4 separate regions of the Homo sapiens genome follow, and all the other regions are linked to region 1. Evidence: promoter capture Hi-C in 16 types of primary human blood cells and fetal thymus (Javierre and others, 2016). All regions are on one chromosome and are shown on one strand. Each heading gives the region's core, a stretch centred on a gene start or on the middle of the fragment in contact. The rest is flanking DNA. Distances are from core to core; before and after follow the strand shown. Region 1 holds the start of TRPC7-AS1 (TRPC7 antisense RNA 1). Region 2 overlaps SLC25A48 (solute carrier family 25 member 48). Region 3 has its middle 27 kb from the start of IL9. Region 4 has its middle 6.6 kb from the start of IL9.

Evidence for each region. The method cuts DNA at HindIII sites, captures the fragments that hold promoters and counts their contacts. A CHiCAGO score of 5 or more calls a contact.
Region 2: a contact is called between a fragment that was not itself captured here and the fragment with the promoter of TRPC7-AS1 in region 1, in 2 of 17 cell types (activated CD4 T cells and monocytes). The highest score is 6.7, in activated CD4 T cells.
Region 3: a fragment that was not itself captured here is called in contact with the fragment with the promoter of TRPC7-AS1 in region 1 in 4 of 17 cell types (endothelial precursors, fetal thymus, M1 macrophages and 1 more); the score reaches 5.9 in endothelial precursors.
Region 4: a fragment that was not itself captured here is called in contact with the fragment with the promoter of TRPC7-AS1 in region 1 in 8 of 17 cell types (monocytes, naive CD8 T cells, fetal thymus and 5 more); the score reaches 9.1 in monocytes.

Annotation. Positions count from the first base shown.
Region 1 is chr5:136,212,620-136,216,185 of GRCh38, reverse strand. It overlaps TRPC7-AS1 (TRPC7 antisense RNA 1), which reads right to left and starts at 2,138. Exons shown (of 2, transcript NR_046708.1): 1 at 1,763-2,138. TRPC7 (transient receptor potential cation channel subfamily C member 7) reads left to right here. Exons shown (of 12, transcript NM_020389.3): 12 at 2,582-3,441. The coding sequence ends at 2,751. The HindIII fragment of the contact is 8,916 bases long and covers 1-3,566 here.
Region 2 is chr5:135,845,292-135,848,628 of GRCh38, reverse strand. The region is part of intron 2 of SLC25A48 (solute carrier family 25 member 48); the gene reads right to left. Among named protein-coding and RNA genes, the nearest start is that of SLC25A48, 12 kb to the right of the region's middle. The HindIII fragment of the contact is 3,273 bases long and covers 1-2,947 here.
Region 3 is chr5:135,920,635-135,924,169 of GRCh38, reverse strand. No RefSeq gene overlaps it. Among named protein-coding and RNA genes, the nearest start is that of IL9, 27 kb to the right of the region's middle. The HindIII fragment of the contact is 2,062 bases long and covers 750-2,811 here.
Region 4 is chr5:135,900,592-135,904,313 of GRCh38, reverse strand. No RefSeq gene overlaps it. Among named protein-coding and RNA genes, the nearest start is that of IL9, 6.6 kb to the right of the region's middle. The HindIII fragment of the contact is 5,582 bases long and covers 1-3,722 here.

The DNA.
Region 1 (3,566 bases), core at 889-3,388:
TTCCACCCACGTGGTGATTTAAAACAACACAGGTTCTGTGGGTCTCACTGGGCTACGGCCACAGTGTTGTCAGGGCACTGTGCTCCTTTCCAGAGGCTCCAGGGAGGCTCAGTCTCCTTGCTCATTCAGTTGTCGGCAGAGTGCATTTCCACGGGGCTGCAGGCCTGTCCCTGTTGCCTTGCTGGCCACAGCTGGGCTGCCCTGAGCTCCAGCACTTGGTCTGTGCATACAGCCCCACCACCTCAGAGCTGGCAGCAGGCATCAGGCACCCTCACACTCCATTTGCCCTGCCTCATCTTCCATTGTCCCATCTCTGACCCCACTCTTCTGCCTTCCTCCTCCACCATTTTTTTTTTTTTTTTTGAGATGGAGTCTCACTCTGTTGCCCAGGCTGGAGTGCAACGGCACAATCTCGGCCCACTGCAACCTCTGCCTCCTGGGTTCAAGTGATTCTCCTGCCTCAGCCTCCTGAGTAGCTGGGATCACAGGTGTGTGCCACCACGCCCAGCTAATTTTTGTATTTTTTTAGTAGAGATGGGGTTTTACCATGTTGGTCAGGCTGGTCTCGAACTCCTGACCTTGTGATCCGCCCATCTCAGCCTCCCAAAGTGTTGGGATTACAGGCATGAGCCACTGCGCCCGGCCCCTCCTCCACTTTTAAGGACTCATGTGATTGAATTGGTTCCACCAGGACAATCCAGAATAATCTCCTTCTGTTAAGGGCAGCTGATCAGCAACCTGAATTCTATTTGCCACCTCAGTTCCCCTTTGAGGAGAAACAGTCATGTTTCCCACAGGCAGAACATCAGGGATCAGGACGGGGACATCTTGGGAGTAGGGGACATTCCTCTGCCTCCCACAGCAATGGCAGCCTTGAGCCAACCTCATGCCTCTTGAGTGCAGGATGGTTCAGAATTCCAATGCTGTACTTCATTCCATGGTGCACATCCACTGAGCAGATGCACACTGCGTTTAGGGTCTGCCGCCGCTTGCTTCTAACTGGCCCTGTCCAGTCTCAGTGGGAGGTTCTCAGCATCTAACTGACAGCCGTGTTTCTCAAAGTGTTCCCCACCTCAGAACTAGCTGTTAAAACTACAGATCCCAGACCCCACCCAGACCTAATGAATCAGCATCTCTGGAGTGGGGTCTGGGGATCTGCTTTTGGAAAACTGCACCAAGGGTCTCTGATATACACTGAAGTTTACCAACTATATTATTTTCACTGTTTGGGTTGTTTTCCAGTCTATTTTAAGCAGTTACTCTTAGATGAAAAGCAAATTACTTTATGCCAGGTAATTAATGAGATACTTATGACAAATATTTGCCACCTAGAAACAGCCTCATCCATGATTGAAGTTTCTGTTCTCCTAGCTTGGGCCACAGGGAACTACAGAAAGAGCCTGGTCATTGGGTGACCCTCTGCTTCATCCTGGGGCACCCAGCATGCAGCTCGAAGCTCAGCCATAACTGAACTGCCCCTGAGCTGACATGGTTTAGGGGCAGACAACAGCCCACCTACCTACTTGTAGGTCTCAAACAATGGCCAAGTGTCAGGCCAGCCAGCCTCAAGCAGTATGTAACTGATTCATGTGAATATCACTGATCATAGAAGGTGGGGGTATCCAGGTGTCATGGCACTTAAATTACACCATGAAACGGGGGCTCAGTGAAGCATCTGATAAAAACAGGGGGTGTATCCATTTGTCAAAATGGATCAAACTGTACCTTTAAGATCTCTGCCTTTTATGTGTATAGACCATACCTGAAAAATAGACGAGTAATGTTTCCACAGACAGTGGACTCCCACACGAGCCAAGTGCAGTATCTACAGTATTAGGAAAGATCCTTTTGACATCTGTTTGTGGTTAATAAGAAGATTCCCACAGCCTAGACCCATTGGACTTCTAACCACAAGGTTCTCTGTGGAAATAAAAGTGAAAGTCCCTGCTAGGTGGTCCCTCGTTATGGAAGGAGGAGGCGGCAGGCATTGACGAAGCTCCTGTCAGCGAGGTGGTGCTGCTGCTTGTGTGGGCTGAGTGGACCGTGCTCAGGTGGCCAGCTCACTCCCAAGAGGCTGGTCAGCTCCATGGCCACCACGGCTGCATCTGCTGTGCCGAGCCATTCTCTCCAGGCTCCTGGGAGTTTCTCCTCCCTACAAATAACAATGACAGAACAAAACATAGCATCATCAAAAGCAATGCTCTGGTTAATGGGGTTGTTTTCCAGAGTCTTGAAATCTGCCTTTAGTGACTCTGAAACAAACTTTCTAACAAGTATTTTATGAAACAAGTGCTAGACACAATTCACAGCCCTGATCTTGACTCCTCCTTCAAACCCCTAAGGGAAAGGTTTTCCTGGAATGGGAGGAGAAGGGCTTTCTATGGATCGATGTGTCCTTCAGTGGTGGGGGAGCTGGGTGGTTCTGGGTTCAAATAGAGCCCCCCTTGCCTCACCTTCAACCCTGGTGGGCTGGCCCAGGACCCGACATTCCACTGGAAGGATGCACATGCCCACATGTGCATGGGACAAGCCCCGAGCTTCCACCTACTCAGACTCAGCAAAATCTCCTCTGTCCTTGCAGGCGAGCTGAAGGAAATCAAGCAAGATATCTCCAGCCTGCGCTATGAGCTTCTTGAGGAAAAATCTCAAGCTACTGGTGAGCTGGCAGACCTGATTCAACAACTCAGCGAGAAGTTTGGAAAGAACTTAAACAAAGACCACCTGAGGGTGAACAAGGGCAAAGACATTTAGCAGCCCACATCGGCGTCTGTGACTTCTACCAGCATTCCAAGGCCAGGTTGGATGCCCTCGCCCCCATCCTTGGTGGGGAGGGGTCCCCAGCCCACTCCTCTAGGACACGAAGGGGATCTCCTGGCTCAGTCTCTTGCAGCATGACTGACATCTCCAGCCCGCTGGCCTGCCTAGACCCAGAACTGCTGTGAATCTAGGTGGTTGGGTAAGAAAAGCTACCATGGGAGGAGGGGAGGAACAGCCCCCTGACGAGTGTGAGACCTTTGGTCCAGCCACAGTGAAACCCATCCCTGTGGCCAGAGCAGGAAAAGGCCATCTTGGGTGCACACCTGTGCCCTCCCACTGCAGGTGGGACTGCAGCTCTGGCTGTGTCCTGGGAAGACAAACACCTCAACCCACAAACTCCTTCTCACTCCCTCCCTGCCACCCCCAACACATCCAAACAGAACCAGGAGGTGACCTGTGATCTATTCTTAAGTGCCAGATGAGAACACAGCCTAATAGCAAAATAGTTCTATTTGTTTATATAAAAAAAAAGTTTAAAAATCCTAAATTGAAAACTGTACTGTAGGTAGCACTGTTTAGAAAACAACAACAAAATCCAAATGATGTATTTTTACCTTTATTAAGATTATCTTGTATTTACTATTTTTACCTAAAATGGAAAGAAATAAAATTACCTCATAATAACTTCTGTGGATACGCTACCAGGGCCGCCCCACTCGCGGGCCCAGTCTGGAGGTGGCCTTGGGAACCTGTGGCCCAGGGATGCTTCGGGAGGAGAATGGGCCGATGCGGTGGGGGTTGGGTGGGGA
Region 2 (3,337 bases), core at 62-2,561, 370 kb after region 1:
ATAAAAAATAATTCCCAAGTAAATATATATTTTAGATGAAGACAAGTACTACAGAGGAAAATAAACCAAGGATAAGAAGAGCTGGGTGATAAGAAGGAAAAGGTAATTTTAAATTCAGTGGGGGAGACTCCCTGGAAAATGCAGCAAGATGAGAACTGGGCCTTCAAGGTCTTCTTGTTAAGCAGAACCACAGAGGCCTACCTCGGAGTGGGATGTCCACAACCAGGACAATGACTTGGGCCAGGTGGTGGAGGGGTGCAGGTCTCTCTCTGTGCCCCATGTAAGGCTGTCATGAGGTCCAACACTCTCCCAGGGCTGTCCCTGGAAAGTGAATCCACAAATGGCTGACTGCCACCCACCCCCTGCAACAAGTAATCAATTCCTGCTAAGAAAATTGAGTGGTTGAGTCACTCAAGCCAATAATACATGAAGTGACTCAACCTGAGAGCCAAACCTGGATCACAGAATAATTTCAAAGCCATGGAGCAAAGGTCTGTCAGGCATGCTGAGCACTCGGGTAGGCTGGCACTGAGGCCAGCAGCAAAGCCCAAGTCTCTAGGGCCCCCAGTGATAGCAGGAGAAGGCATTTATTATGCACCAACTGCATACTGACCATCATATAAAATTGACCTCACTAAATCCCACAGATGCTCTAAGGCACGGATACTGGTCCCATCTTACAGATGAACACAACTGACTACTTATATTAGTTTCCTATTGCTGCTGTAACAAATTACCCCAAACTTCATGGCTTAAAACAGCATGAATGCATTATCTCACAGTTCTAAGACCAGAAATCTGAAATGAGTCTCAGTGGGGTAAGATCAGAATGCTGGCAAGGCAGCACTCCCTCGGGAGGCTCTTGAGGAGAATGTGTTTTCTTGTCTCCCCCAGCTTTTGGGGTTCACCCTCTTTCCCGGAGCCCCAGCATCATGGCTCCTCTTCTCTCCCTGCTTCTGTTGTCACATTGTTTTCTTCCTCTTCTGTGGGAAGAAATCTAAATCTCTCTCCACCTCCCTCTTATAAGGACACTTGTAATTACATTTAAGAACCTCCCTGATAATCCAGGATCATCCTCCCATCTCAAGATCCTTAACATAATCATACCTGCAAAGTTTTCTTTTGCCATATAAGATGACATTCACAGGTTCCACAGATGAGGACACAGGCACATCTGGGGACCATTATTCAGTCAACCACACTGCCTCACATGGTTTCCCCAGGAACCTGGCCCCCTCGTTTTGTTCATCCCCAAGGCCTTTCACTCCACAGGACCCCAGAGGCTGCTACTCCCACCAATCTCTAGCCTACTGAGACCAAAACAAGTCTAGTCCAAGCTCTTGACCAGGTGTGGCTGCCCTCAGTGTTGGGTTCTGACCTATACATAGTGTTAGGTATATAATAGATACTCAGTGAACACCTATGAAAGGCAAGAGAGAAGAGAGCTTGGTTCCCTAGCCCAGCTTCAGTGCTTTTAGTTATTATGGAAAATATCTCCAAATCTGAGGTGTCCAGAGCACTCATTTTGGGCCTACAGAATTGATGGTCTTGCCATTATCTTTCTCGTCTCTCCTGGTTATGTAGAATCAAGGCCATTTTAAGACTTGCTTAGATTTTGGACTCTTTCGCTTTTGCAAACCTGCTCATATTGTATCAAGTAAGATAAAATTAAGCATAATTGTATATATTTAATGTACATCCCATATTAATATCATCCACATAGACCTCCATGAAAGCTGAGTTGCATTTGACTATTTAACATGAGGTTATATTTTGTAAATATTTAGTGCAGCATTAATTTTGATTCTGTACTTTTCTTCTTATATACTATACTATTTTCTCAGGTCTCTGACACTTTCTTTGGTCCTTATAGAGAATGGGAGCCCTGGATTGTGTGAATGCAGTGGATACATCTTGAAGATCATGGCCCTTCATGCAATATTTAGCCCAAAACTATGAGCTTCATGTCAGGGGTGCTGTGAATCTCATGCTACTCCAGTTCATGGTTTCTCTCCCATTGGAACCTCTCAGCATCCCAGAGCTGAAAACCCAAGGAGAAGAGGATGAGTGCTCAGTGTCAGAGGTGAGGTGGCTGAAGCCTCAGAGCTCAGAGCTGAGCCACTGCCTGGCCTGCCCCTGACCTGGCAGAGCAAGCCATGCCCTGGCTGTCCTGGGCCAAGATGCATGCCCCAGATTGGACTGGGTAGTGAGGGGGCAGCCTAGAATTGTGGGGAGCATGTTGAAGCAAAACAAGAACCCCCACTGGGATGTTCATGAGAAGGAGGCAGACACCCCCTCCCAAAGCCTGTCCATTGCAGTCCAGTCCCAGTGGTCTACAAGAGTGATCCCCAACATTTTTGGCGCCAGGAACCAGTTTTGTGGAAGACAATTTTTCCAAAGACCAGGGTGGGGTGATGGTTTTGAGGTGAAACCATCAGATAATCAGGCATCAGATTCTCATAAAGAGCGGGCAACCTAGATCCCTCGCATGCGCAGTTCATAATAGGGTTTGTGCTCTTACGAGAATCTAATGCTGCCACTGATCTGAGAGGAAGCAGAGCTCAGGCAGTAATGCTCACTTACCCACTGCTCACCTCCTGCTGTGCAGCCCCGTTCCTAACAGGCCACAGGCTGGTACTGGTACGGTATAGGAGTTGGGGACCCCTGGTCTAGAGGCAGCCAAGCCCTGACTAGAAAACCTAGCCACGCTGCATCAGACATAGGCACCAGCCAGGCCTCCTCAACCTAAGACCACGCAGCCAAGGGCACAGGAATAAGCCTTTCACCTGGGTCAGCAGCACAGGCCCTTGTAGCCGGGTTCTTCCACAGGTGAGTCCCCGGACCCTAGACAAGTGACTGTCTGCCTCCCTGCACTCCAGCCTGTCTATTCTTGATAGTAGCATCATCTCGCTCATTGCTGTATCCTCAGTACCTCCATGAACAAGCTTCATGACAGCCCCACCAGGGAGGTGCTACTTGCCCACTTTACAGACAAGGAATTCAAGGCTCAGGAAGGTTAAGTGCTGTGCCCAGGTCACTGGAGAGTAGGTGATAAGGCCAGGACTGGATTTCCAGTTATTCAGACTTGCCTGGCCCTTTCTTGGTGGACAGGGTCTGTTGAGAAAACATCAGCCAGAAGGAAGGAAAGAAGGTGTGCTGGAGTGCAACAGGGGCACTCAGGCTGAACAAAGACTGGATGTCATGTTTCAGGAGGGCTTCCCTCCAGAGCTTCAGGGCAGAGTGCAGAGAAGGGAGAAAGCCCAGCCTTTTCAGGCAACTGTGGCCAGGGAGCTCCACTCCTGTAAATTGTGCTAAATCCAATGGCTAGTGTCCTTAG
Region 3 (3,535 bases), core at 531-3,030, 290 kb after region 1:
TTCTGAGTTCCAATCACTGGCTGTTTCCTCATCTCTCTCCCCCTCCTTGGGCATCTCTATTCCCTGAGACACAACAGTATCGAAATTAAGCCAATTAATAACCCTAGAATGGCCTCTAAGTGTTCAAGTGAAAGGATAAGTTCCTTGTCTCTCACTTTAAATTCAAATCTAAAAATGATTAAGCTTGGTGATGAAGGCATGTCAAAATCGGACATACGCTGAAAGTTAGGCTTCTTGTGTTAAACAATTAGCCAAGTTTTGAATGCAAAGGAAAAGTCCTTGAAGGAGATTAAAAAGTGCTACTCCAGTCAACACGCAAATGACAAGAAAGTGAAACAGCCTTATTGCTGGTATGGGGAAAGTTTTCATGGTCTGGATAGAAAATGAAATCAGCTATAACCTGCCCTTAAGCCAAAGCTTAATCCAGAGCAAGGCCCTAACCTCTTTAATTCTATGAAGGTTGAGAGAGGTGAGGAAGCTGCAGAAGAAAAGTTTGAGATTAGCAGAGTTTGGTTCATCAGATTTAGGGAAAGAAGCCATCTCCATAACATAAAAGTGCAAGGTGAAGCAGCAGGTGCTGATGGAGAAGCTGCAGCAAGTTATCCAGAAGATCTAGCCAAGATCATTGATAAAGGCAGCTACATTCAAAACAGATTTTCAATGTAGATTAAACAGTCTTCTATTGGAAGGAGATGCCATCTAGGACTTTCATAACTAAAGAGGAGAAATCAATGCCTTGTACCAAAGCTTCAAAGAACAGCTGGCCTCTTTTGTTAGGAATAATGTGGGTGGTGACTTTAAATTAAAGCATTGGCTTTACTTTAATGTTCATTTACTATTCTAGAAATCCTAATTCCATTAAGAATTATGCTTAATCTGCTCCTTCTCTGTTCTAGAAATATGACAAAGCCATCTGTTTACAGCATATTTTACTATTTTAAGCCCACTATTGAGATCTACTTCTCAGAAAAAGAGATTCCTTTCAAAATATTACTGTTCATGGACAGTGCTCACCCAAGAGCTCTGATAGAGATGTACAAGGAAATTAGTGTTTTCAGGCCGGCTAACACAATATCCATTCTGCAGCCCATGCATCAAGGATTGATTTCCAAGTCCTACTATTTAAGAAATATATTTTGTAAGGCTATTGCTGCCATAGATAGTTATTCCTCTGATATATCTGGGCAAAGCAAATTGAAAACCTACTGGAAAGGATTCACCATTCTAGATGCTATTAGGAACATTTGGGCTTCATGGGAGGAGGCCAAAGTATCAATATTAACAGGAGTTTGGAATAAGTTGATTCCAGCCTAAATGGATGACTTTGAGGGGTTTAAGACATCATGGAGGAAGGAAGTGCAGGTGAGGTGGAAACTGCAAGGGAACTAGAGTAAGAAGTGGAGCCTGAAGATGTGACTGAATTGTTGCAGTCTCACAAGAATTGAACAGATGAGGAGTTGCCTGTCATGGGTGGGCAAAGAAAGTGGTTTCTTGAGATGGAGTCTATTTGTGGTGAAGATGCTGTGAACATTGTTGAAATGACAACAAAGGATTTAGCATATTCCATAAACTTAGTTGATAAAGCAGCAGCAGGGTTTGAGAGTATTTATTCCAATTTTGAAAGAAGTTCTAATGTGGGTAAAATGCTACCAAACAACATTAAATGCTACAGAGAAATCTCTTGTGAAAGGAAGAGTCAATCCGTGTGCAAACTTCACTGTTGTCTTATTTTAAGAAATTACCACAGACACCCCAATCTTCAACAACTACTACCCTGATCAGTCAGCGGCCGTCAACATCAAGACGAGATCCTCCACCAGCAAGAAGATGATGACTCACTGAAGGTTCAGATGATGGTTAGCATTTTTTTTTCAGTCAAGCATTTTTAAATTAAGGTACGTAAAGATTTTAAACATAATGCTCCTGCACACCTAGACTACAGTATAGTGTAAATATAACTTGTATATGCACTGAGAAACCAAAAATTCATACAAATTGCTTCAATGAGGTATTTGCTTTATTGCAGTGGTCTGGAACTGAACCCACAATATCTCTGAATCATGTCTGTATGTGGCTTAATATGTAAACTGCCCACTTCCGAGAGAAAAGTTCAGGTACATTTTGCACATGTTTTCCCTTGGACACTGCAAAACACCTTGCCAGCATAAAAAGACACTGTAAGATTTCCCTCTGTTCTAATTCATTTCATTTAAACCTGCAATGGATTAATTATGTCCTGAAGATTGATCATATTTTTCCTTTAAGAATTTGTTTTTTACTATTTAAAATATAAATAGCCTATTATCTACATCAGTCAAGATTTCTTGCCTGTGCAAAAATCTCTCAACATTTTTGAGATACAGTTTTTACTTCATATTTCTTTAGATTAAGTTTTCCCTAAAGGAAATTAGTAAAGGAGCTATTTAACTTTACTTCAAGATTAAGGCTATTCATTTTAAAATCACAAGTCCCAGCTAGTGTGTCTCTAAATGTAGAAGAGCTTGCTGTTCTTTGCATTCTATCCACAGTATGAAGCCCTCGTAAATGGGGAATTATGAAATAAGCATTTCTAAATGGGTCAGGCTTAGTCATCACTGACAACATTGATTCAAAGCCATTACTCTGTGTTGAAAAGTGAATAAAGTCAAGGGCATTGTATGGAGCTCAAGATTTCATTAACAACATGTTCTTCTGGTTTATGGTGGACTTTTTTTGCACAGCTTCATGGATCTGAAGTTATCACTTTTTAAAATAAGGAATAAAAATAATTTTTAACCTATTGCTTTTTACTATTGCTCTTCTAGTAAAGCTTTCACATTGCAACATATTTAAAATAAAATGTAACACTGAATCATGTTTTCCAACGTTGCAGATTACTTGGTTTCAAAAGCTGAAATTCAAGGAAAATAATTCTACAAATATATTTTGTTTAAAAAGAAGCAAGTGATTTTATTGCCATGTTTAACTGAAAATTTCATAGGAATACTTTGTTAATCTCGAGATAATTTTCTGTAGTCATTTTATTTATGAAAGACAAAACTCTGTATTATTACTTTGATTGTCAGCATAAGTCTGGGATCAAGAGAAACAGGGTTAGTCCTTCAAAATCACCTAATAAAAGTAGGTTAGTACGTCATGTTTTATAGATGTCCTGGTGATCCGTCATTTTAAAGTGCATTTCAAAAAGGAGTCATTACCAAAAAAAAATTTCATAGTGTTTTTAGCAAAAGGAAAATGTTAACACAAAGATATTTCTTATAAAGAACAGGGAACTGTTTCAAGCTACTAAATTTTGATTTGTTTGTTTATGGCATGTCCTCCCATGTTAATTTACAACCTATGAAAACTGACATATTTTAAGATTAAAAATTAAGAACTTAAAATTAAGTGGTTTTGATTAATTTGATTTACTGGTTCTAGAAAGAAAATGCTCTGAAGTGATTTTTTAAAAAAGATTATAGTTAATTGAAGGAATACTCTGTATTACCAATTACCCTAAAATCATAAAATAGAGTACTTCCCAGAGGAAATAGAA
Region 4 (3,722 bases), core at 306-2,805, 310 kb after region 1:
ATCCTTGCTATGGAGGAGTGAGGAAATATTGAAAATTCTCTTACTATTTAAACTCTTCCTAACTCACTTTTTATGTGCCCCAAAAAGAAGGCACATAAAAAGAATATGAAGAATGAACTCCCTTAGGGATGGACACTATCTAAGTAAAGTTGTTAATGCAGCCTCTTCCCTTCTGAAAGAGAACCTGGCTTTTCCATTCATTATTTAGCTCTGTTCCCCTACACACCAGATGAAGATGAAATATCAAGTAGGCCTGGGTGGCAAAGTGTCTGGGCTGGGATGACTATAAATGAACTATCCATTTTTAGTGGAGTGTCACAGCCTTGGGCTCTCCTGAGTGCAGGGGCCTTGGAAGCTGTCTGTGATCTCTTTCACCAGATATTGACTCCTGTGGGGCACAAAGCCTTAGGCCAGGACATATCTTGGGCCTCCCAATGGAAGTCGTGCTTCTCCACACCTGAGTCATCACCTGGAGCACTAAAGAGAATGGTGCCTGGACGACCTTGAGGGCCATTCCTACTGAAGAGCAGCACCTAATGCTGCCACCCTGGGAACCTGTGTTTCATCCTCTGTTCAAAATAAAGGAAGAACAAATTGATTCCATCAGCGTATTAAAACCATAATATAGTATGACCAAATAGAACTTATTCCAGGAATGTGAGGATGGCTCAACATTTAGTAATCAGTTAAAATAATGTATCATATGAGTTAGTGGAAAGAAAACTCATGATCCTGATAAAAACTTGAAAGGCGTTTGTAAAATTCAGCTATCATTTCTAATAAAAATTTGGAGAACTAAATATTCGAAACTGTTCCCTATTAGGAAATCAACAGCAAACATGATATTGATTGATAGATGATTATTTTAGATTCAGGAGGTACATGTGCAGCTGTGTTATATGAATATATTGTGTAATGGTGAGGTCTGGGCTTCTGATGTACCCATCATCCAAATAGTGACCATTGTACCTAATAGGTAATTTTTCAACCCTTGCCCCCTCCTCCCCTCCCCTATTTGGAGTCTTTGGCGTCTAGTGTTTCCATCTTTATGTCCATGTGTACCCATTGTTTAGCTCCCACTTATAAGTGAGGTCATGCAAGCAAACATGATATTTAAATGAAAAGCATTGAAAGCATTCCCAATAATATGAAGGAAATGTCGACAATCATTTTATTACCACAATTGCATTCTAAGGTCAATCTAGAGCTGTAAGATAGCTCATTGGACTAAATTAGAGTCCAGAAAGATACTTAAGAAAAATTAAAATTTAGTGTTCAATAAGGTAGTATTTCAAATCAGTAGGTAAAAGAGATATTTAGTTAGTAATAGTATCAACCAAACATGGAAGAAAAATAAATTAGATTTCTTCTATACCCTCAAATAAACTCTAAAAAGATTAAAGATTTAATTGCTGAAAATAAAATCATTCACAGACTGGAAAAATAGAGATAAATATGTTATATGTTTGACCACATGAAAACACAGTCAGAAAACACTACAAGCATAACAATAAACAGAAGAAAATAAATGTAATATATTTGAAAAACAAAGATACACAAAGAACTCTTAGTAATCAGTAAGCAAAAGATTAATATACCAACAGAAATCTGGGCACTAACAGGTAACTCACAAGTGAAGAAATATAAAAAAGCAAGAATTCATTAATTTATGAATTCAATACATATGTATTAGCATCATAAATTTGCCAGACACACGGCCAAGGTTAATAAAAAATCACTGTCCAGTGTTGATAAGGATGTCAGAAGTGGACATTCTTAAACGTGACTAATGGGATTATTATAAATTATAAATTCTATTATTATATGTTAGAACATATTTCTGGAGGACAGTTTGGCAAAACGTATTGAGAGTGAAAGGGTTGCAAATACTTGACCATTCATTCCAAATGTAGGATTTATATTGTCATGAGTGGACGTGAGCCCTGGAACTGGGCAGTCATCTTATAGCCCCAAGGGGAGGGAAGTCAACCCACAGAGTGGCAAAGCAGCCTGTCCACAAGATCTCAGAGCTGCAGATCCGACCACCCCAGGACCCACCGTATCCACAGATGCAGTGTTTTGTGAGATGGCAAATTTCCTTATCACTCCAGTCAGTGTTAACTGGGGTTTTGTGATTTGTGGTCAATGCAATCTTGATGACACAGGGCTCTGTCCTTCCGTTCAGAACTTCTAGCCTCATCTTCCACTTCTTCCCAACAGCCACTTCTGCAGTAGTCAGGCTGCTTCCAACCCTGTCAACACCTTGATTTGCACTTCTGGTTCCAAGATTGTGCGAGAATAAATTTCCGTGGCTTTAAGTCTCCCAGTTTGTATACTTTGTGATGGCAGCCCCAGGACACAGATATAGCTGAGGCCTAGAATCCACCTCCCTCTTCCCCAAAGGCATACTTTGATTTTCTGCTTGTATTAAGTAGACTTGGAGTACAGCCTATAGAGTATCGGTCAACAGAAGTGGAGATTGATTTATGGCCTTGCAGATAAGAACACAGGCTCTGGGGTCTGGTAAATCTCATTCAAGTTGCCAGCTGTGTGTCTATGGCAACTCTCCTAGCTTCTCTGAGCTTCCATTTGGATATCTACAAATAGGGTTAATAAAGATTGTTGAGGGGGCTGAGTGAGATGATATATATAAAGTGCTTAATAAGTTATCTTGTGCACAGGAAGATTTAACAAATTCTAATGCCTTAAGGCTCCAGTGTAATCCAGAACAACAGTTCTCATCCTCCCTTAATTAGATGGACATCAATGAATTGGCCACAGCAAAGGGTGGGGAGTTGGGGGAGTCCCATAGTCTCTGAGAAATACAGGGGCATGTCTCAAGTAATGGTGGACTATGCCAATGGGAGGATGTGAAATTCCATTTACAAGGATAGCCCAGATTGTTATTAACCAACAACAGTGAGGAAAGAGAAGTGAGAGGAAGGAGGAAAGAAATAGATCCTAGGTCTTGGAGCTCAGAGAAAACTGTGTGGGGCCACACAGGGAACAGTAGCTTCCAAGGGCAGCAGACACAGGGTTTGCTCAGGCAGGATGTGAGGGAAGGGGTCCTGGGTTCCCCTTCCACGGAGAGAAGACCCAACCGAAGGACAGCATCACCAGTGGGGCTTACCCCATCATGCTTACTTAGAAAGTAGTGATCTAGAAATAACTACTTGATTAGGAAATTAGCACTTGAGGATTCTCATAACTAGTTACCTCTTGGCTGCTTGGAGTAAAAGGCAGAACAGGTTTTACTTGGAAATGCAGTGCCTTTTTTTTTTTTTTTTGGTCATTTTATGCTGTGCCTTCCTAGAACACATAACCATTTTGTTTTATTCCTAGAGAAATAATCCATGACATATGAGCTTTTATCACAAAATAAAAACATCAAACTTTATCTTTGGAACAAAATAAATGGTTGATCATTGTCTTTTGTCATTTATTGTAAAATATGTTATCTATGATAACTCTTGGTATGCATCTCACTCTAATCTTGATATTTAAAATAGGTGAGTAATTGATTTCTGAGCGTGGTGTATTTGCTCTGTAGCTTATATGCATACTTACATTTTGATACTGAAAGAAATCCTAGGAGTTAAACCTCAAAAGTCATAGACTTTGCCTAGATAAACATCTGCTGTTTTAATGGTATTTTGAACTGCAGAGCTACCGTTTAACAACCCTGTATTCTTTTCTTTTTTATAACTGAGTGGGTGGGGAAA